Linked DNA regions of Homo sapiens: all the other regions are linked to region 1. Evidence: promoter capture Hi-C in 16 types of primary human blood cells and fetal thymus (Javierre and others, 2016). All regions are on one chromosome and are shown on one strand. Each heading gives the region's core, a stretch centred on a gene start or on the middle of the fragment in contact. The rest is flanking DNA. Distances are from core to core; before and after follow the strand shown.

Region 1 (2,700 bases), core at 194-2,693:
GGTACTATTCAGCAATCTTCATTCGTCCTGTTAGTTTCTTAGCACAAAGATTAATTCCAAATTTCCTCCACTCCACCTCAAATCCACGATCCTTCTTAATACTTAATTCCTTCTTAATATTTTATTTTCTATATTACCTTTGTCTTCCACTGTGGCATTATTCCCAGTAAAGACAAACATCTGTGTACCTTCACCTCCTATTGGAAAAATCATTCCTGTCTCTAGCATGACTGATAGATTAATTACCTCAATTCTCTTTTATCTTCCGTATCTTCCTACGAGTCAACTTGGTCTTAAGTTCCCTTTTACTCAAGCTCCTGTCTCCTCTAAACTGCTCTTCTTAAGACTACCATAATCGACGTGTGAATATATTAGTGTAATCGTGTTTGTAACTTGGTAAAAAAACAAAACACTATTTAGCAAACTGAAGTAACAGAATTTTGTTCATTTTTCTACGGGACATTTTAAATGACCTATTTCTTTAAAGTTTTGTCTGTATTACAGGGCCTTAATGTCTAGTTTCACAACTATATTAACCAAGCCTGAAGCAGGCTACAGTTAGGCAATATTTTCCAATATAAAGACCTCTGATTAAATTCTTACTGTGAATCTTCGGAATTTGGCATGAAACAGAACAAGCATGATTGCACCTGTTCTTCCCTATTGTAAACCATCTTCGGTGTCAACATATACAATAAGTTTTGTGGTATTTCCACCTGGTTTTCTATTTTCAAAGTACCCTTGTATGACACAGGTATAAAAATATTTTGATTCTAATCTGCCATTTTCCTTACTCTCACACTTTTTTGGACGGCTTATAATTTTCGATATGGTACAAAGCTCACTAACTGGTTCTTTGCTAGAGGCCTGCTACTGATACTGATGGTCGCTAAATGCTAGGTACGCCGCCAGTATTGCTCTTACTTCAATACCGACATCGCAGGATAAAGGCAGTCACATTTAGGCGCGCAAGCGCAATTCTTGATTAATGAGCCAAGGCAGACTTCTCAATCCGAGTTTTGAGTTTTCCTTACTTTTCCCCCAAATGCTCTTTTCCTCGGATTTCACATCGATAGCACTTATTCGAGTTTTCACGAGTAACCTGACGCAGGCGGAACCGACGAAGACTAGCCGGCAAGAATCCTACAGTCGCAGCCATCTGCGCAGCGTCCGCCGGGGACGCTCCGCGCGGAAGACCGCCTGTGACTCGACACACTCTCCAGTGACGCGGCCGTCGCCGCACCTGCGCGGCGGGGCGGGAAGGAGACTCCCAGCGCCGGGGGGAAGGGAGTCTACGACTCGGGAGGGAGGTGGGGGAGCAGGGAGGGAGAGAGGGAACAAGGGAGAAGGAGAGAGGCGGACAGGCGGAGGGGCGGAGGGGCAGAGGGGCGGAGGGGCGGTCCTTCCGGAGGTTCTTAGGTCCTTCACTTCCTGTTTGCCGGCACTTCAAAATCCGGGTCAAAGGGTGTCGCTTCGGTCTCTTCTCCCCGGCTGATCCCAGCACTCTCCGTGACAGCGCCTCCTGACTCAGCCCAGGACCGGCTTCTTCTCACGACCTGCTGGAGACTGGACGCCCACACCTGACCCGGAACTCGGAGGCGTGCTTCCTCCACCCGCCGGCTAGCAGCCCCGGGCCCTGAGCTCCCGCCGACGCCGCTGGGGGGCCCGACAGGCCCCTCGGCGCTGATGCTGAGTGGGATCGAGGGCCCGGGGCGGCGGCGGAGTACGGGCCTCTGGCGCCTTAGGCCAGCCGCAGGTGTCGGTTCTTAGGCTCTCCAGGCTCGCTAGCTCCCGCCCCGGCTTGGATGGGTCTCCCTGCGCCATAAATGTGGCTGCTGAGGCGGCGGTGGCCGTGGCCCGTCGCGCTGCTGCTGCGGCGCTCCAAGTTCATCTCCGCCCCGGGGCTCTCCTGCCCCACCTCGGGGCTGCCGCCACCCGCTCCTTATCCCCTGGCCCTGGCCTTGCAGCGTGGCGACAATGGACAAGATCCTGGAGGGCCTTGTGAGTTCCTCGCATCCCCTGCCCCTCAAGCGGGTGATTGTGCGGAAGGTGGTGGAATCGGCGGAGCACTGGCTAGACGAGGCGCAGTGCGAGGCCATGTTTGACCTGACGACCCGGCTCATCCTGGAGGGCCAGGACCCTTTCCAGCGGCAGGTGGGGCACCAGGTGCTGGAGGCCTACGCACGATACCACCGGCCAGAGTTCGAGTCCTTCTTCAACAAGACCTTCGTGTTGGGCCTCCTTCATCAGGGCTACCACTCTCTGGACAGGAAGGATGTAGCCATCCTGGACTACATTCACAACGGCCTGAAGCTGATTATGAGCTGTCCGTCGGTGCTGGATCTCTTTAGCCTCCTGCAGGTAGAGGTGTTACGGATGGTGTGTGAGAGGCCGGAGCCGCAGCTCTGTGCCCGACTGAGCGACCTTCTGACCGACTTTGTGCAATGCATCCCCAAGGGGAAATTGTCCATCACGTTCTGTCAACAGCTGGTTCGAACGATAGGCCATTTCCAGTGCGTGTCCACCCAGGAAAGAGAGCTGCGGGAATATGTCTCCCAGGTGACAAAAGTGAGTAACTTGCTGCAGAACATCTGGAAGGCCGAGCCTGCCACACTACTGCCTTCCCTGCAAGAAGTTTTTGCAAGCATCTCTTCCACAGGTAAGGGTCATTATCTTTCAGAATATCTCATAAAAAATCAG
Region 2 (2,793 bases), core at 158-2,657, 4.1 Mb before region 1:
ATTATGATTCTGTAAGTAAAACAGTATTTGTCTACTCACAGATAAATGGTTTTTAAAAAGCTCTTCTTAAGCATTTCTTTGCATCCTTTTGAACATTTTGCTATAGATGACACAAGGAATCATTTTAAACAATTATCAAACATGAGGAATTATTTTAAATAGTTATCAAGAACATTCTGCTGCCTGCCCTTCTCCACCAACCAAATTTGTTTCTAAAATAGTTTTATGTTGAATGATTCTGATTGGCTATTTACACACTGACTGATGTGACCATGTAACTCAGTTTTTACATGAATTTTAGTACCAATGCTGCAATGAATTGTGAAGGGTAATTTCTTAAATTCATTTTCAAATGAGCTTTTTAAAAAGAAAACTAGTGTCATTCCTTGAGTTTCATTTTAATGTATCTATTCACATACTGCTTTTAACTTCTTTTCATACTGCTAATTTTTTTTCAATTTGATCTTTTCAAGATTGAGACTACATATTCCAATTTATAGTAAATCAGAAATGAGATTTTCAATTTCATAATGAACTTTAATAAAATAGATTTGTTTTCTGTCAGTGAAAATATTTAGGCTAAATTTCCAGAAAAATTTCACCTTCATTTAATAACTGCATTGTTGACCAAAACTTCTGATTACCTTATTTCGCAAATGTAAAAATAAAATAAAATAAGAAAAGACAAATAAAGGAAAAAGTCAAGAAAGGTATACTTGAGAATAAGGCAGAAATCTTCCAGAAAATCCAGACTGTTCATACACAATACTTTAACATAAATATTAGGAAAGTAACAATGCTAGACATTTGTTTTTCCTATATTAAGCTATATACACTAGAAATGAGCCTAAATTATTAATTAGACTATATTACAGACTTAAACATATAAAGAGCCTCAAGTTCCAATTTGGCACACATTTTTATTTTCAAAGACTGGATAAAAGAAGTTAACCTACCAATTACATAACGAACTTATAGACATATTCATTCACATGGTGTAATATTAGAAAAAAAAAAAAAAACCCAAGGAGAAGCCCTACCTTTCCATTAAGTATTTCCAAGCCACTTATTTTAGAGCTTTAAAAGTCATTAGCAATCATCTAGTCAACCCTGTCTTCTTAGAGAAAAATGAAGCCCTAAAGATGTTAAGTCACTAGCTAGTTTAGTGACAGCTAGATATAGATCCTCAACTCTTCAGGGTCAAGGCTCGTTCTCATACATCATATTGTCCATGAAATTTTAAAGTACGTCGAGTCTTTACTACAAACATACTTTGTAAAATGACAGTGAGTTTTAATAAATAAGCTTATTTATTTCATCCTTTACTCAAACTCCTCTGGCAGCATAAATGTTTATAGCTAAAGGAATGCACATGTGATACTTAACACCTCAAAAGGAAGAAAAGCAAAAGTATATTCGAGCTTAACATGTACCTTAACATGTAGCGACAGTGATAATATTAAGTGTTATATACTTGCTTAGAAACATGTTATGCTGAAAATATTAACCTAAAGCTTATCTCCTCTAGAAGTTGTATAAATATCATTCTACACTAATCATCAACCCATTATAGCAATCACTGGAACTATTTTTTACATTTATACATTATATAGATTTTCACCTGTCTCCCCAGACTGTAAAATCTTTGTGAGGAAGAATTCTCTGTCACACCTGATGACCTCCCTCAAGGAGATAAAAAGGTATTCTGTCCATTACACAAATACAAACTTTAGAAACATTATCCTACCAATGCTATTGAAAATTGGCAGCAATAAAAATTTAGAATCATGATTCCTAATCTTCTGGGCCATCTTTCCTCCCTAACTTTTAACACACTGAATAAACCTTGGGTAAAAGAGCAAACCTCTCTCAAGTTTCCTTCTAAAATAAGGCTTGTAAGGGAGCTTCAGATTACATGAACATAATTGGTGACATAACTTGAAAATAACTGTATGTAAAACATATTCTTTACAGAACATTATTATCATAAACTTTAAGATTCGTATATAGTACAGAAATGCAGTAGAGCTGGAAAACAGCACTTTTTAAAACCCCTTATCAAAAGACAAAACTTTTGTCTTTTCAAACCAAAGACAGTCTTTTATATACACACATATATACTCCAAGGAGAATACCTACAGGCCATATTCAGTTTCACCGGTAATTCCAAAAGCTTACGAAAAAATAGTTTCCAATGGCAAAGTGAAGCCCTCCTACCTTTACAGTATTTTTCAAAGTTTTGATGCAAAGGCATTCTAAGGTTCTTTCCGTGTGTTCGCAGCCACTGGAAACAACATCTCTTGAACTGTACATATTCAATATTCACAGAAATATCATTGACCCAACAACTTCACGTATCGTTAGTACCAATAATATAAAGCCAAAAATTCCATCCCTTAATTCATATTGTAGTAATGGACAATATATACAAAGGAATCAAGTTCTCATTGTGCTCTCTTACTAAACTTAAGTTCTTGTTCTGACCAGAAAGCAACTGTCAAACAGATGTGTTTTAATCACTACTCAGTAAACTGCATTTTCCTTTGGAACCTCTGAAACACATATTTTTACATTTTATAGAATAAAAGACTGGTCACCACTGTGTTGTACTCAATACATACATATTATTTCAGACTTTGAACCTAGAGCGCTTCCGTTAAATTTTGATACATGTGTTCATGATTTCCCCCATCGAACTGAGTCACAGAGTTTTGCCAAGCAAACTACTAATTTCAAGTCCCTTACCTAAAAACAATGGATGGAAGACTGTTAAGATCTTTTACAGAATTACTG
Region 3 (2,700 bases), core at 78-2,577, 4.0 Mb before region 1:
CCATCCAGGATGCTGGCAGAGGGAAAAAGATTAGAAACTGTGCGATCTGGATTATTCTTGGTGTCACGGAATATTTTTTGAGTCCTTTATGGACATGGAATAAAAATGCCCAAATGGAGCAGAAGAGAGGGCTCGGCTACCCTGATCACAAAGCTCCTGGGGTAGAGTCAGCATCCAGCCCTGGCAGAGCCCTCCCTGTCCTCCTTCCGCGCCCCTAGACCATCCCGTCGCGCGGTCCCTGAGGACCAGCTTCGCGAGGATCCAGAAGGCGGTCACTGGACGTGCCTGTTACGAGCCCGTTTTTGTTTTGCTTAAGAAACAGATTCCGATCCGAGCAAAGCCTCCCTACCTCCCGGGGAATAGGGGGAGATGGCAGCACGGTGCCGGCGTGGAGAGCGAGAATAAAAGAACTGCCGAGTACAACCTGTCGTGCAAGCTAGCAGCGCCGGGAAGGAAAGGTAAGCGGCGGCGATAAGGCACGACAGGGAAGGAAACTGGTGTCCAGCGCCCCCCCCCGCCTGCCCGCCACCCAGAGCGGCCGGAGCCTCCCAGGTCCCGCCCCGAGCTCGCCGCCCAGCCCCGGCGCCGGCCGCAGACTCCCGCCCTACACAAACCCTCCCAGGACGCGCTTCCTCCGGAGCCGGACCCCCGCCCTGGCCTCCCCGCGGGATGAGGCGGGTCAGTTCAGTCCGCTTCTCGGCAGAGGTGACTCGCGCAGAGATGTAAACACGGAGAGACCAGCTGCGCTCGGCCCATCCCCCCCGCCGGGGTCTGTAACCTCTTCCCTCAGCCCTGCCCCGCGCCCCGCGCTCCCCGCGGGCAGGCGCGCAGCGCGCCTTCCCCTTTCTCCAAGTCCCGCTCCGCGACCGTTGCCTGGGGACACTCAGCCCCCTTCCCCCAGCCCCCGGCCGGTGTCACCGCCGCAGCCGCCGGAAAACCCCTCCGCAAACCCCGAAGCAAACAACACAAGCGCGGGGCGGGGGCGCGGAGGGAGGCGGCGGCAGTCGGGACAGCCAGGCTTTATCGCCGCGCCCTTCGCGCTCCCTCTCACCAGCCTCGGCTGCCCGCGCTCTTACCTGCTCTCCGCGACGCCTGGGAAGACCGCGGCGTCCTTTTCCCTCTCAGCAGGGCCGCGGACTAGCCGCCGCCGTTGGCCGAGCGTCCGGAGGGAGCCGGGGCCTCCCCAGCAGCCCGAGCCGCTCCACAGGGAGAGAAGGAGACAAAACAGAGGCTCGCCGCCCCGCGCAGCGACCCCCGCCCGCGCCGCCCCACCGACCCCCAACCGCCTAGGCGACGGCGGCGACACAGAGCTTGGCGCTGGGAGCAATGGTTGCCCCCGCCCCGCTCCGCTCCCGGCCCCCTCCCTCCACCCCCCGCCTCGGCTCCTCCCCCTCGGCCTCCTGCCGCCTCCACCAGGACACTGGAGTCCGCCTCCCCCTCCCCGCCAGCTCAGAGTGCTCCTCCCCTCCCCACGCGGCGGGGGGGCGGGGGCGGCACCGCCAGTCACCGCAGCGCCTGTCAAACGCGGGCCGGCTATTTATACCCCGCGGGGCCCCGCCGCCCTCGGGCCCCCACCAGCCCGCCGAACCTGCTTCTTTTGCTGTCTTGAATCCCGCCCTCTTCTCCTCGCCCAACTTCTCCCAAACCCGCCTTCCCAGGTAAAGACGCTCGTCACTTGTCCGGCTCCTTGCCCAGGGCTCCCCGATCTCGCTCTCCACTCCAGCCCCGGATTGGTGCAGGGGGCTCTGCCGCACGGGGCAGGCGTGTGAGGCCGATGGGGCCGCGCGTGCACCTGCAGCGCCCGCCGGCTTTCCCCCGCCGGCCGGGACCGCACGCACACACCCTCGCCACTCAGGGCCCCCGCAGGCCCCGCCGTCACCGCATCCCCAACTCAGGACTCTCGCCCTTCTCCGGAGACGGCCCCACAGTCGGGCAGTCTGACAGTTACAGGGGGGCGAGGTTTTGCAAAAACTCCTAGCCCGGTCTTTCCAGTTCCCACTCCTCAGCCTTGGCTTAGTGAAAGGTGGGGGTTCGGGCAGGAGCGCGACGCCGGCCCCGCCCCGGCCGGTGACGCACGTGGCGCACCGCCCCGCCAGCCTCGCGCCCCTCGGCGCCGCCAGCTCCTCCTCCCCGCTAGCAAAAGCCGGGCGTAGTACACCCGCGACCCCGCCCCATTCCCAGAAATTACCACCCGCCCAACAGCCCGGCCGCGCGGCGGTTGGTGCCGGCGTTTGCTGGCTGTCGGGTGGCTGGGCCCAGCGCGCAGCTGCGGAGCGCGGCGGGCGGCCCCTTGGAGCTGCCCGGGGAGCTGCGGGCACTCGCACCTAGCCATTGTCGCTCCTTGCGCGGTCCGCAACGGAGAAGTAACTCAAGTCTGAGTGTTGTTGGTGCGAGAATGAGAGAGTGTTCTGGTGTGGGAGTATTTTGGCCCAAGTGCCTGCGAATTCGAAAACGAAAACCCAGCAGTGGCTGCACGCTTCTGGTTTCCACACTTTCACACAAAGGGGAGCCTTCGAGCGGGGCACTCTCACGCGCCTTCAAGTGCACAAAAGCCAATGACACGGTGCCGTGGGTTGCCCTGTGTAGGAGCGTCTCTTTAATGGGCTTTGTAGGCACAGTTAATGCATACAAACGCCTCAGTCTATTTCTTCACCACCACCATTCCCCGCCGCGGCGTTTTCTGTATTTGTTTCTTTAACA
Region 4 (2,700 bases), core at 127-2,626, 3.7 Mb before region 1:
TTAAATCTTCAGATTCCCTCCTTTGAATGGGATAGGTAGAGCAGATTAGAAGAAATATATTCCGAGGCTCTCTAATAGTTTCTGGATGATTAACCTTCATGAAAATAACCTCACAGATAAGTAATTAGGATTTTTCAGCCCATTTCTATAAACTAAGTAAACTTTTTTTCTAGTGAACATAACTTGATATATTAGTGACTGTAGAAAGTCTTTCTACAGCAACAGGAATTATATCAAGGCTTTTGCAAATTCCTGGCAACTCCGGGCATGTTTAAGTTCTACTACTCATCTGTTCTGACTATATTTTCATCTGATGGAATAAGCAGTTCATCTCCTTTCCTAGAACTTTTAGTGCTCTACTGTCCCCCTCACTTTAGTTAAGGTCTGCCATGTCCTCCTCTCCGACAGTCCTTGACTTTCCCAATGGCATATTCATCTGCTCAAACAGATGTCACTGCAAAACAAAACAAACTTTTAACAAAAAGCAATGTTTGCATATTTGGGGCCTTTTGTATGACAATATTGCACGTTTCCTCAGAAAAATTCACGGAGATTCTTTAAGGTTGGGGGTTTAATCTATTGATATTTTCCTTAGGTAGACAAAGACAACCTCTAAGTGCGCTCAGTTAATCTTTAACCGCTACATCATCGTCACCCAGGCACTAAGACATAACTAGGGCATAATGAGTTTTATTTCCACCAGGGGCGCCTAGTAACTACCAGGTTCAACGCTCCCAGGTGGCCGACATGTGATGTGCTCTACTGTTTGGGCTGGGGATATTAGCTCAACAAACTCTGGCCACAAGGATCACGCGGATATTCTTGGGGATGCCTAGCGAAATGCGCTGTACCTAGGCCTCGAACTCTCGCCTGCTCTCCGGTGGGCGGTCTCGAACTCCAGCCTGCTCTCCGGCAGCCCACAGCAATGCGCCTGCCAAGACCTTAGGCTGCAAAACTCGCCACGGCCCAGAGCTCGCCTCCAAGTGCGCCCCGCACAGGGCAAGCTTTCGGCGAGGACTCGCGTCCCACCCATCTAGCCCTGGCCGCTGTCCCAACTCCCGCAGTTCACAGAGGCGGCGGCGGTGAGCGCAGCCGATGCCACATCCTCAGCGGCAAGCTGAAGAAACCTGTCTCCTCTCTGGGGCGACCAAACGATACGTCGATGCCGGAACCGACCCGACGCCGGAGCCGTCGGCTCCGTCCTTACCGTTGCTCTCCAGGTACACGCCCCCGTCAAAGGCGGCTCTGCGGCCCTCTCGCGAGAGAGTGCCCGTGGTACCTCCTTCCTCTCAGTTGTCTGTCTCTCCCCGCCCCCGGAGTGATTGCGCGGCTTCCTCCAGAGGGCGGGAACCTTGGACGTGGCGGGGCTGGGTCAGTCAGGGCGCTGGGCCCAGCCTCTCTGCAGGCTGGCCTTCCGCGCTGCCGTGAAGCCCCCGACAGGTCCCACGCCTGCCTAGGTAGACCGGCGCCAGCCCGAGTGACGCCTGGCGTGTGGCCGCGGGCAGGCGGCTCCGTGCGGCGGGGCGGGCGGGTGCCACACCTGTGCGGGCAAGGGCGGGGCGGGAAGGTGCGCAGGCGCGCTCGGGGCTGGTGGGCGGTGGCTCCTGGGAAGTTGCGCAGCCGAACTGGCCGGCTGGGCGCGCGCTCTTGCGGTGGCGTAATCTCTCAGCCTTTCTGTGTCTCCTTTCCTCCGCCTCAGTTTGGGGCGGGTCGGGGGAATGGCTGAGGAGATGGAGTCGTCGCTCGAGGCAAGCTTTTCGTCCAGCGGGGCAGTGTCAGGGGCCTCAGGGTTTTTGCCTCCTGCCCGCTCCCGCATCTTCAAGATAATCGTGATCGGCGACTCCAATGTGGGCAAGACATGCCTGACCTACCGCTTCTGCGCTGGCCGCTTCCCCGACCGCACCGAGGCCACGATAGGGGTGGATTTCCGAGAACGAGCGGTGGAGATTGATGGGGAGCGCATCAAGGTGAGCGGATGGGGAACTGTTGGGGAGGACAGGGTGACAGGTGTCCCAACCCCACCGTGGGCTGGTCGCTGGCCGTGTGCACGGTGTGTGTGCGCTCCATTTTTTTCTCACGCTGATGAGATTGGAGTTGGGGATTGGAAGGATTGCAATACTGCAAACTTCTAAGGCAGCGTTTCTCAGACTTCATTGTGCATGCGATTTACCTGGGGATCTTGTTTTTGAAAATGCAGGCTATGATTTAATAATCTCGCTGATGATGCAGGTGCAGCTAGTCCGTGGACCACACTTTGAGTTCAGGAGTGTAGGGCTTATCTACCGACCCATTTACTGTGTGTGTCGTGTGCTGGGAGTCAGTCAAATATGAACGGAGGAAAAACAGTGAAATTGCGCGAGAATGGAAAATTCATTTAATCAGTAATAGTTATTAAACATTCATTCGAGCAGTGCCTTAGATGTTGTGGAAGTAAAGCCTATTGCCTTTGAGGAAGTACTTAGGTATTCTCTTGCATACAGTTTTGCTGTAGTAGTTTCTTTATGATACTGATTTTAGAAAAATCTATTTTCCTGCAGAAACATTCTATATGTGATAGTTCCTACTCAGGTTGCCAAAAGCATTTCTCATGATGCCACCTCAGACACACGCCCAATTCTTTATTCCCTTTAAGTCGTTATTTTTGGTCCCTGGGACTGGGGACACTGAGTGACAGTAATAGTGGAGAAGGTAGTATAGGCC
Region 5 (2,700 bases), core at 168-2,667, 3.9 Mb before region 1:
CAATCACTAGTGCTCTCAGCAGTAATTAAGCTTCTTGTTAGAGAAAACCTTAAATTAAGAATGTATAAAATTCATTATAAGCAACATTATTCAAAAAGATGAGTTACTATTAAGTTGTAAGTGACTCAAAATCTCTCACCCCTTTCCAAGTCAAAAATCTGAACCACTTCAACAAGAAAATTTAAAATATCTTAGAGCTGGGGGACAGTGGAGGAAGTCCCAAACCCATTAGATAAAAAACAAAATTTTAAATATTAATATAGCAGATACTTTAACTTTAAAAAGAAATTTTATCCCAACAGAGGCAGTGTTTCACAGTCTTTTCTAGGATAGTGTGGCCTCTGAAGTCAGGAGAACTGGGTTCAGCAAACTAGTTTCTCCAAGTGTTTCTTATCTGTAACGGGTCAACAATAGTAGGTGCCACGTAGTGTTGTTGAAATGATTAAACGCAAGTTTATGTGTAAAGCATGTGGTGTGAATTTTTTTTTTTTTTTTTTTTTTTTTTTTTGAGACAGAGTCTCGCTGTATCTCCCAGGCTGGAGTGCGGTAGCACGATCTCGGCTCACTGCAAGCTCCACCTCCCGGGTTCACACCATTCTGCTGTCTCAGCCTCCTGAACAGCTGGGACTACAGGCGCCCTTCGCTACACCTGGCTAATTTTTTTTGTATTTTTGGTAGAGACGAGGTTTCACTGTGTTAGCCAGGATGGTCTGGATCTCTTGACCTCGTGATCCGCCCACCTTGGCCTCCCAAAGTGCTGGGATTACAGGTGTGAGCCACCACGTCCGGCCTGAAAATTTTTTTAAAAAGGTCGCTACACACTATGTACAATTTCCAACAATGTATTTATACAAACATTGATTAAAACCTAATGGAAGTCTACTGGGATTCAATTTGTACAACTTGCACACTGCTGGTTTGTCCTTACAGCATCTGAAAAAGGTACCTTCATAAAACTCCAATTAGCCTCAATTCTCATTAAGAAATAAAGTATAATTACTATTGCCGGGCGTGGTGGCTCACGCCTGTAATCAGAACACTTTGGGAGGCCGAGGCGGGCGGATCAATAGGTCAGGAGATCGAGACCATCCTGGCTAATACGGTGAAACCCCGTCTCTACCAACAATACAAAAATTAGCCGGGCGTGGTGGCGGGCGCCTGTAGTCCTAGCTACTTGGGAGGCTGAGGCAGGAGAATGGCGTGAACCCGCGAGGCAGAGCTTTCAGTGAGCCGAGATCACGCCACTGCACTCCAGCCTGGGAGACAGAGTGAGACTCCATCTCAAAAAAAAAAAAAAAAAGTATAATTACTATTTAGTAAAACTGCCATTCCTTACAAAACCATGTTAAGGAACAATAACAGAAATTTTAGTCCCATCATACTTTTTCAATGTTGCTGAAATCTTAATTTCTTTTTAGTCCTTGGGATTTCTCTTATGGAAAAATACGTATCAGCGATTATATAAATATCCTACTGTTATGAGAGTTTCACTGCCATACAACATATAACAGCACCATTCAATCTCGCAATGTTATGTCATTCCCTTACCACGCTGGTGTAGTCTCACGACATCCGGGAGTAAAGTACTTACATAGATCCACAAGAAGACAGTGGTGCCCAAGGTGAACCCAACTTTCAGCCAGTCAGGTTTGGCATTCGGCGGCTCTCGCACGTAGAACTTTGATCGCACTGAAGCTGAAAGGGGAAGAGGGTCTGTAAATTTGTAACTTACTGCCTTGTAGGGAAAAAACCCTAACATTTACGTGCGTATTATCGCATTTAATTCTCCCTTCAACTCCCCCATCTCCCACTTAAACAGCCAAGGAAATAGAGGTTCAAAGAGATCAAGTACCTCGCCCAGGGCCACTGGCGAGTTAGACAGGACGCACCTGTCCTGTCCGAGGCTTTCAAAGCCTCGTTTAAGGGCTTGCGGACCCTCAGACGACTCGGGAGTGGTCATGTAAGGGGCGCCCCGGGGAGGGTGTCTCCTCTCCCGGTTTACGGGACCTAACGTACAGAGGTGGGGAAGGCAAGGACCCAAAGTCCATTTACAAAGGCCAAGAGTGGTCAGGTTGAACTTGGATAAGTGCTAGAGGCGGGTGATGGGGAGCAGAGAGCCCTGCGTAGGGGACAGGCGTGGGCTGGGCCTTGGGTCGTCTGCCGGCGAAGGTCACTGCAGGACGAACCCGGGCCGCTGCCGCCTCCTGCACCCGTGGGCTGGGTCCGCCTTAGGAGGGGTAATCTGAGGGTCGAGTCGGCCTGCACGAGGAGGATACTCACGGCCGCTCGGGAGCCTGGCGGGGGCCAGCAGCCGGGAAAGGGGACGCAGCAAGGCGGACGGCGCCATCTTGCGTGGCCCAGCTCAGTCTCTCCGAGTTGGCAACAGAACCAGCGCCACCTGGCGGCCGGAAGTGCGGGACTCGAGGGCTCTGCAGCAGAGCTCCGTGGGGGCGTCAACGTGAATTCCAGCACGGCAAGGTTCTCTAGCACCCCGGCCTCAGCCTTCTGTCTATACAGTGGAATTAGGAAGAAAATAATTAAAAGAAAAAAGAGTTTACCTATTCTCTGTCCTCTGGGGGTTTTTCACCCCATCTCTACGGCTATTCATCAAGAGGTTTATTAAAATTTTCCTACATGAGCCAGAAGAAAGAAAAGTGTCGTGCTGAATAATAACTAGCATTTGGATTGAATTCTGTGGTC
Region 6 (2,700 bases), core at 95-2,594, 3.6 Mb before region 1:
TGCGGGGGCCGGGGGGGGGGCCTTCGTTTTCCCATCTGTAAATGAAGAGTTGGGCTACATAAATTCGAAGCTCAAACCTTCTCTGTCCACCTTTTCTGGAGAAAAGGTAAATAGAGCCTGAGAAGCCCCAGGAAAAGGCACATAAAAAGGAAATGGGAAGAAGCCAGGGCAACTCCAACAAACTGAATACTCAAGTCCTCTCACGTTAATGGCTCTATCTGGGCAGGCAGGTGAGGGGAGAACCTTTATCTTGACTCTAGGGAGGGAAGCATGGAAGTTTTAGGAGAACCAAGGTTCCTGGGTTCTGAATCACTGAGTCACTAATCAAGTGGCTAACTGTGTTAGTGACAACTGCAGAAGCTGGAGGGAGGGGCTGGGAGAGGAGCAGCGAGGAGGAGACGGGTGGGGGAGGAGATGGGGATGAAAGGGAAGCGTTTGCAGCTTGTGGAGCACTGGGAAGAGCAGGGACATCAAGGGCACCAAATAAAGGTCCAGGGAGCAAAGAAAGAAATGGAGAAAATTCATTCTGCTGGAAATAGACATGAGTGCAGTCAGGAAGAAGACTTACAGATTCAGGGTGACCTGATTTGATTACAGCAACAGGAAGTGCAAGAGAGAGAGGGCAGAATAACCTGACCTAAGGAAGTGAATTAAATAATAGAGAAGACACCACAGTTGCCATGGTATTAAAATACCTCATGCCACATTAAGCTTCCTCTTTCTCTTTTGCTTGATTCTTGTTTTTGCAACATGTTAATGTTGCAATGACATGTTAATGTCATTGCAGGGTATCCAGTAAACTAAATTTAGACTTTCTGGGGCGGGGAGGGGAGGGAAGATGCAGCCCAGATCTCCCTGTTTGGGTCGACTCTGGGCCAATATTGTTCCTTCACAGAGTTCTTGGGGTTTTTTGCATTATGGGATATGAAAACTCTTATGTCAGGCTTGGGCCTAGTGAAGCTGCTGAGTGAAATGATTGAAAAAAAAAAAATGAGGCCAGGCACGGTGGGTCACGCCTGTAATTCCAGCGCTTTGGGAGACAGAGGCAGGTGGATCACCTGAGGTCAGGAGTTCATGACCAGCCTGGCCAACATGGTGAAACCCTGTCTCTACTAAAAATACAAAAATTACAAAAATACAAAAACTGGTGGTGCATGCCTGTAGTCCCAGCTACTTGGGAGGCTGAGGAAGGAGAATCACTTGAACCTGGGAGGCGGAGGCTGCAATGAGCCGAGATGGCATCACTGCACTGCACTCCAGCCTGGGCCACGGAGTGAGACTCCATCTCAAAAAAACAAACAACAACAAAAAAAACCCTCACACACACACACACACACACAAAGAAAAATTGGAAATAGTTTTCAAAGGGGCATCTGTTTTAGAAATTACTTTAGAAAAACAATAGGATTGCAGAAACTTGAAAAATAAAGACAAACCGCCACCAAAACCAAATGTGTTTTCATAGATATTATTTTCTCTAATTGTTTTTGAAAAATTACTTTACTAGGCTAAAATTAAGATTATTGAGTCCTGCAATTGGTCCTCTGCAAAAGTAGACATTGCAGAGGGCAGGTACATGGTATACTCTTTTGACACTACAATATCCAGGATGGGCAGAGGAGTATTTCCAGCTGACCTATTTACCACAAATGTCATAACATTCATCAAGGGTCAGCTCTTGACCTTCCTCAAGTGGACTCACATTAACTAGACCCCGAGAGACTGAGATGTATGCCTGAATTATGATGGACAGATCAGAATACTCACACTGTCAGGGCAAAAGATCTCTCTATATAAATAAATGCACTTGAGAAGACAAATTCCATCCAAAAGTTTGCTTAGTTATCTGGAGTAGAATGAAGGACATTAGTTGTGTGGTCCACAAGACAAATACTCTGATACAGTGTTCTGAAAGAATGAGGCTGCCCACCCATCCCACTCACCTCTGCTTAGATGGGCCCTATGGCTTCTGAGGCTTCAAGCTTCTTTCTCCGTGCTCTAGTTTCTCCAAACCTGATTCTCCACACAGCGTCCTATACAGCCCATTAGGCAGATTTACACTTTCTAAGTCATAATGACATTCTCTATCTTCCTGGCATTACAGCCAAGTCACTTTAATGGGAATTTGAGGTAATCCTCAAACTTCTCAGTCACAAATTGAGTCACTCTCTTGGTTTATGCCCACTGAATTCTAGTCAAAACCATTGAGTGTGCAGATTTTGGTAGTCAAACTTTCTGAGAGCAACCTGGTTCTCAAGTTCTTGGGAAAGCACCTCATTTCTGCTTCACAAGCCATCAACAGTGGGCCAACCTTCTTAGGCTACCATGATTTCTGAGAAAGAGACCAGAGACATATTAAGACCCACGTGGCCTGTCCTGTGATACAGTCATCCAAGTTTTCCTGGGCACTCAGCTCAAAGATATTTCTATTCTGTGCAGGAGTGGAGAGGTTGGCTCTTTGCTATGATAGCTTAGGCAACGGAACGCCACCTTGAGGATGCAGATTCCATCTACTATAACATAGATGGAGGGCAAAGTGTCCTCTTCATTTTCCAAATGGGACTGTCTGGCTTTGAATCCAATATCCAGAAATGAAAATACCCATGTGGTCCTCTTCACTCAGTCACAAACAAAGACAGGTTGATTAGAGTGTTTCTGGGACCTGGCACTGAAATGACAACCCTCGATCTACAGGCAGCC
Region 7 (2,753 bases), core at 199-2,698, 4.4 Mb after region 1:
GAAGAAGATTCCAGAGATGGAGAAATAAATTAGGAGTTTATAATAATCTATTTGTGAAATAAAACTGAAAAGGGGGATGAGATTGGAATAGAAAAGAAAGGCAATAAGAGAATGCAACTGAAAAATCAATAGGACATGTCCACTAATGCAACCGCCCAAGGGGTTCACTTTGCCAGCCACCTAGACAGAACCGATTCATCAAGACGGGAATTGCAAAAGATAAAGAGTAATTCAGACAGAGCCAGCTGTGCGGGAGACAGGAGTTTTATTATTACTCAAATCAGTCTCCCTAGGCATTCGGGGAGCAGAGTTTTAAGGATAATTTGCTGGGTAGGGGGAAGCCAGTGAGCCATGAGTGCTGATTGGAGAGAGGTGAAATCATAGGGAGTCAAAGCTGTCCACTTATACTGAGTCAGTTCCTGGGTGGGGGCCACAAGGTGAGATGAGCCCGTTTATTGATCTGGGTGGTGCCAGCTGATTCAACAAATGCAGGGTCTGCAAAATATCACAAGCACTGATCTTAGGAGCAGTTTAGGGAGGGCCAGAATCTTGTAGCCTCCAGCTGCATGACTCCTAAACCATAATTTCTAATCTTATGGCTAATGTTAGTCCTACAAAGGCAATCTAGTCCCCAGGCAAGGAGGTTTGCTTTGGGGCAGGGCTATTTCTATAGCTTTGGGAGAAACTATAAACTAAGTTTCTCTCAAAGTTAGTTCAGCCTACGCCCAGGAATGAACAAGGACAGCTTGGAGGTTAGACACAAGATGGAGTCGGTTTAAGTTATCTCTTTCACTGTCTCAGTCATAATTTTGCAAAGGCAGTTTCACTAATAAATGAGGAATAAGGTGGAAGTTACAAGCCAAGGTAAATGGAGGTAGAGTGATCAGTGTAGACATACAACATAAGAATGGGTGCATTGCCTCCTATGCAGTACAGGACCATTTGTACAACGTCCTGACAAATTTTGTCTCTATTTACACCCTTGAAATGACAGGGAGCTACCTGGCTTTTTAAAAAAATAAGCTACTAATGTGTTCATTTGACAAATATATGTTGAGCACCAAGTACGTGCTAGTATAAAGAAATACCTTAGTGCACAGAACAGACATAGACCTCATGGAACTTAGTTTGGTTAGGAGAGTTAGGAATTAAGACACAAATATATAGTTAGTTATTTCAGGAAATGCAATGAAGGAAGAAGGACAGGAGGCCATGAGAGAATAGTAATGACAAATTAATATAGATTGGTTATCAAGGGAGACAGATTGTGCTCAACTCTGAAGGCAACAAGGACAAATGGGCATTTATAGCTAGAGCATGTTGAGGGGGTCAGCGAATGCAGAATTACGAAGAGGGGACATCAGGGCTAGGAGGATTCTCACTAAACTGAACAGAATTCTTGCTAAAGGCAGGCCAAGGCCTTAGTCATCCAAGGTGGGTGCTGAGGAATTTGATCGGATGTCAAAGGTGATCAGATATCAAAGGGGGCTGGGGAATGACTTAGCAAGATTCTTTTAGATTGACTGACACAGGACAAGGACAAGGCCCAAGGATGAAGCCAAGTTGAAAAGAGGCATCAGAGGCTTGTCTAAAGTTTGTCTAAATGAGAGTCTTTGTCAAATGAGAAACCATTTATAGGATATTATGCAGAGAACCGGTATCTAAATTTCATTTTCAAAGATTACTGTGTTTTTTTTTTGAGATGGTCTTGCTCTGTCACCCAGGCTAGAATACAGTGGCGTGATCTCAGCTCATTGCAACCTCCACCTCCCATATTCAAGCAATTCTCATGCCTCAGCCTCCCAAGTAGCTGGGATTACAGGCGTGCCCGGCTAAATTTTGTTATTTTTTTTGTAGAGACAGAGTTTTGCCATGTTGGCCAGGCTGCTCTCAAGTGATCCACCTGCCTCGGCCTCCCACAGTGCTGGGATTACAGGCGTGAGGATGGCTTGAGCCCAGGAGTTTGAGACTAGCCTGGGCAACACAGTGAAACCACATCTCTACAGAAAATTTAAAAATAGCTGGGTGTGGGGGCACACACCTACAGTCCCAGCTACTCAGGAGGATCACTTGAGCCCAGGAGGTCAAGAGTAGCCTGGGCAACATAGTGAGACTCCCATGTCTATAGAAAATAAATTAGCCAGGTGTGGTGGTATGCAGATATAGTTCCAGCTACTCAGGAGGCTGAGGTGGGAGGATCACTTGAGCCCAGGAGGTCAAGAGTAGCCTGGGCAACATAGTGAGACCCCATGTCTACAGAAAATAAATTAGCCAGGTGTGGTGGTATGCAGATACAGTTCCAGCTACTCAGGAGGCTGAGGTGGGAGGATTACTTGAGCCCAGGAGGTCAAGAGTAGCCTGGGCAACATAGTGAGACCCCATGTCTACAGAAAATAAATTAGCCAGGTGTGGTGGTATGCAGATATAGTTCCAGCTACTCAGGAGGCTGAGGTGGGAGGATCACTTGAGCACAGAAGGTCAAGGCTGCAGTAAGCCATGTTCACACCACTGCACTCCACCCTGGGCAACAGAATAAGATCCTATATCTCAAAAAATAAAAAAGGTATTTAGATAATTTGTTTCCTGCCATCCACATTCTTCTGCCACTGCTATTAAGGATGACTACATTGAAAGAATTAACTGTAAATATGGTATCATTCATCAAAGTGATTTTAATTTGGAGGCTTTGGGGAAAATCTGATGCTATTTAAATGAGTAGTTGAAATTCTAAGTTCTTTTTCTTTTGCAGAGTA

The links. The method cuts DNA at HindIII sites, captures the fragments that hold promoters and counts their contacts. A CHiCAGO score of 5 or more calls a contact.
Region 2: a contact is called between a fragment that was not itself captured here and the fragment with the promoter of USP38 in region 1, in 1 of 17 cell types (non-activated CD4 T cells). The highest score is 5.7, in non-activated CD4 T cells.
Region 3: a contact is called between the fragment with the promoter of ELF2 here and the fragment with the promoter of USP38 in region 1, in 1 of 17 cell types (non-activated CD4 T cells). The highest score is 6.0, in non-activated CD4 T cells.
Region 4: a contact is called between a fragment that was not itself captured here and the fragment with the promoter of USP38 in region 1, in 2 of 17 cell types (activated CD4 T cells and total B cells). The highest score is 7.2, in activated CD4 T cells.
Region 5: a contact is called between a fragment that was not itself captured here and the fragment with the promoter of USP38 in region 1, in 1 of 17 cell types (non-activated CD4 T cells). The highest score is 8.0, in non-activated CD4 T cells.
Region 6: a contact is called between a fragment that was not itself captured here and the fragment with the promoter of USP38 in region 1, in 1 of 17 cell types (total B cells). The highest score is 10.4, in total B cells.
Region 7: a contact is called between a fragment that was not itself captured here and the fragment with the promoter of USP38 in region 1, in 1 of 17 cell types (naive CD8 T cells). The highest score is 5.2, in naive CD8 T cells.

What each region holds. Positions count from the first base shown.
Region 1 is chr4:143,183,474-143,186,173 of GRCh38, forward strand. USP38 (ubiquitin specific peptidase 38) reads left to right here and starts at 1,444. Exons shown (of 10, transcript NM_032557.6): 1 at 1,444-2,659. The coding sequence starts at 1,978. It overlaps USP38-DT (USP38 divergent transcript), which reads right to left and starts at 1,388. Exons shown (of 4, transcript NR_185979.1): 1 at 1,035-1,388. RefSeq lists enhancers at 494-1,379, 1,380-2,264 and silencers at 1,316-1,365, 1,586-1,835. The HindIII fragment of the contact is 4,447 bases long and covers 1-2,700 here.
Region 2 is chr4:139,079,937-139,082,729 of GRCh38, forward strand. The region is part of intron 4 of ELF2 (E74 like ETS transcription factor 2); the gene reads right to left. Among named protein-coding and RNA genes, the nearest start is that of NOCT, 66 kb to the left of the region's middle. The HindIII fragment of the contact is 209 bases long and covers 1,304-1,512 here.
Region 3 is chr4:139,175,891-139,178,590 of GRCh38, forward strand. It overlaps ELF2 (E74 like ETS transcription factor 2), which reads right to left and starts at 1,328. Exons shown (of 10, transcript NM_001331036.3): 1 at 1,077-1,328. LOC105379412 (a long non-coding RNA gene) reads left to right here and starts at 265. Exons shown (of 4, transcript XR_007058273.1): 1 at 265-458. RefSeq lists an enhancer at 299-348, silencers at 949-1,908, 1,919-2,298 and a cis regulatory region at 2,665-2,700. The HindIII fragment of the contact is 9,266 bases long and covers 1-2,700 here.
Region 4 is chr4:139,452,478-139,455,177 of GRCh38, forward strand. RAB33B (RAB33B, member RAS oncogene family) reads left to right here and starts at 1,644. Exons shown (of 2, transcript NM_031296.3): 1 at 1,644-1,967. The coding sequence starts at 1,719. It overlaps RAB33B-AS1 (RAB33B antisense RNA 1), which reads right to left and starts at 1,564. Exons shown (of 1, transcript NR_159964.1): 1 at 1-1,564. RefSeq lists enhancers at 932-1,271, 1,892-1,941 and a silencer at 1,342-1,671. The HindIII fragment of the contact is 749 bases long and covers 1,003-1,751 here.
Region 5 is chr4:139,293,452-139,296,151 of GRCh38, forward strand. NDUFC1 (NADH:ubiquinone oxidoreductase subunit C1) reads right to left here. Exons shown (of 6, transcript NM_001184989.2): 3 at 2,281-2,509; 4 at 1,592-1,695. The coding sequence starts at 2,347. Among named protein-coding and RNA genes, the nearest start is that of NAA15, 6.7 kb to the right of the region's middle. RefSeq lists an enhancer at 2,140-2,700. The HindIII fragment of the contact is 2,778 bases long and covers 29-2,700 here.
Region 6 is chr4:139,560,215-139,562,914 of GRCh38, forward strand. No RefSeq gene overlaps it. Among named protein-coding and RNA genes, the nearest start is that of SETD7, 5.3 kb to the left of the region's middle. The HindIII fragment of the contact is 1,271 bases long and covers 710-1,980 here.
Region 7 is chr4:147,625,612-147,628,364 of GRCh38, forward strand. TMEM184C (transmembrane protein 184C) reads left to right here. Exons shown (of 10, transcript NM_018241.3): 5 at 2,750-2,753. Among named protein-coding and RNA genes, the nearest start is that of TMEM184C, 9.6 kb to the left of the region's middle. The HindIII fragment of the contact is 4,389 bases long and covers 1-2,753 here.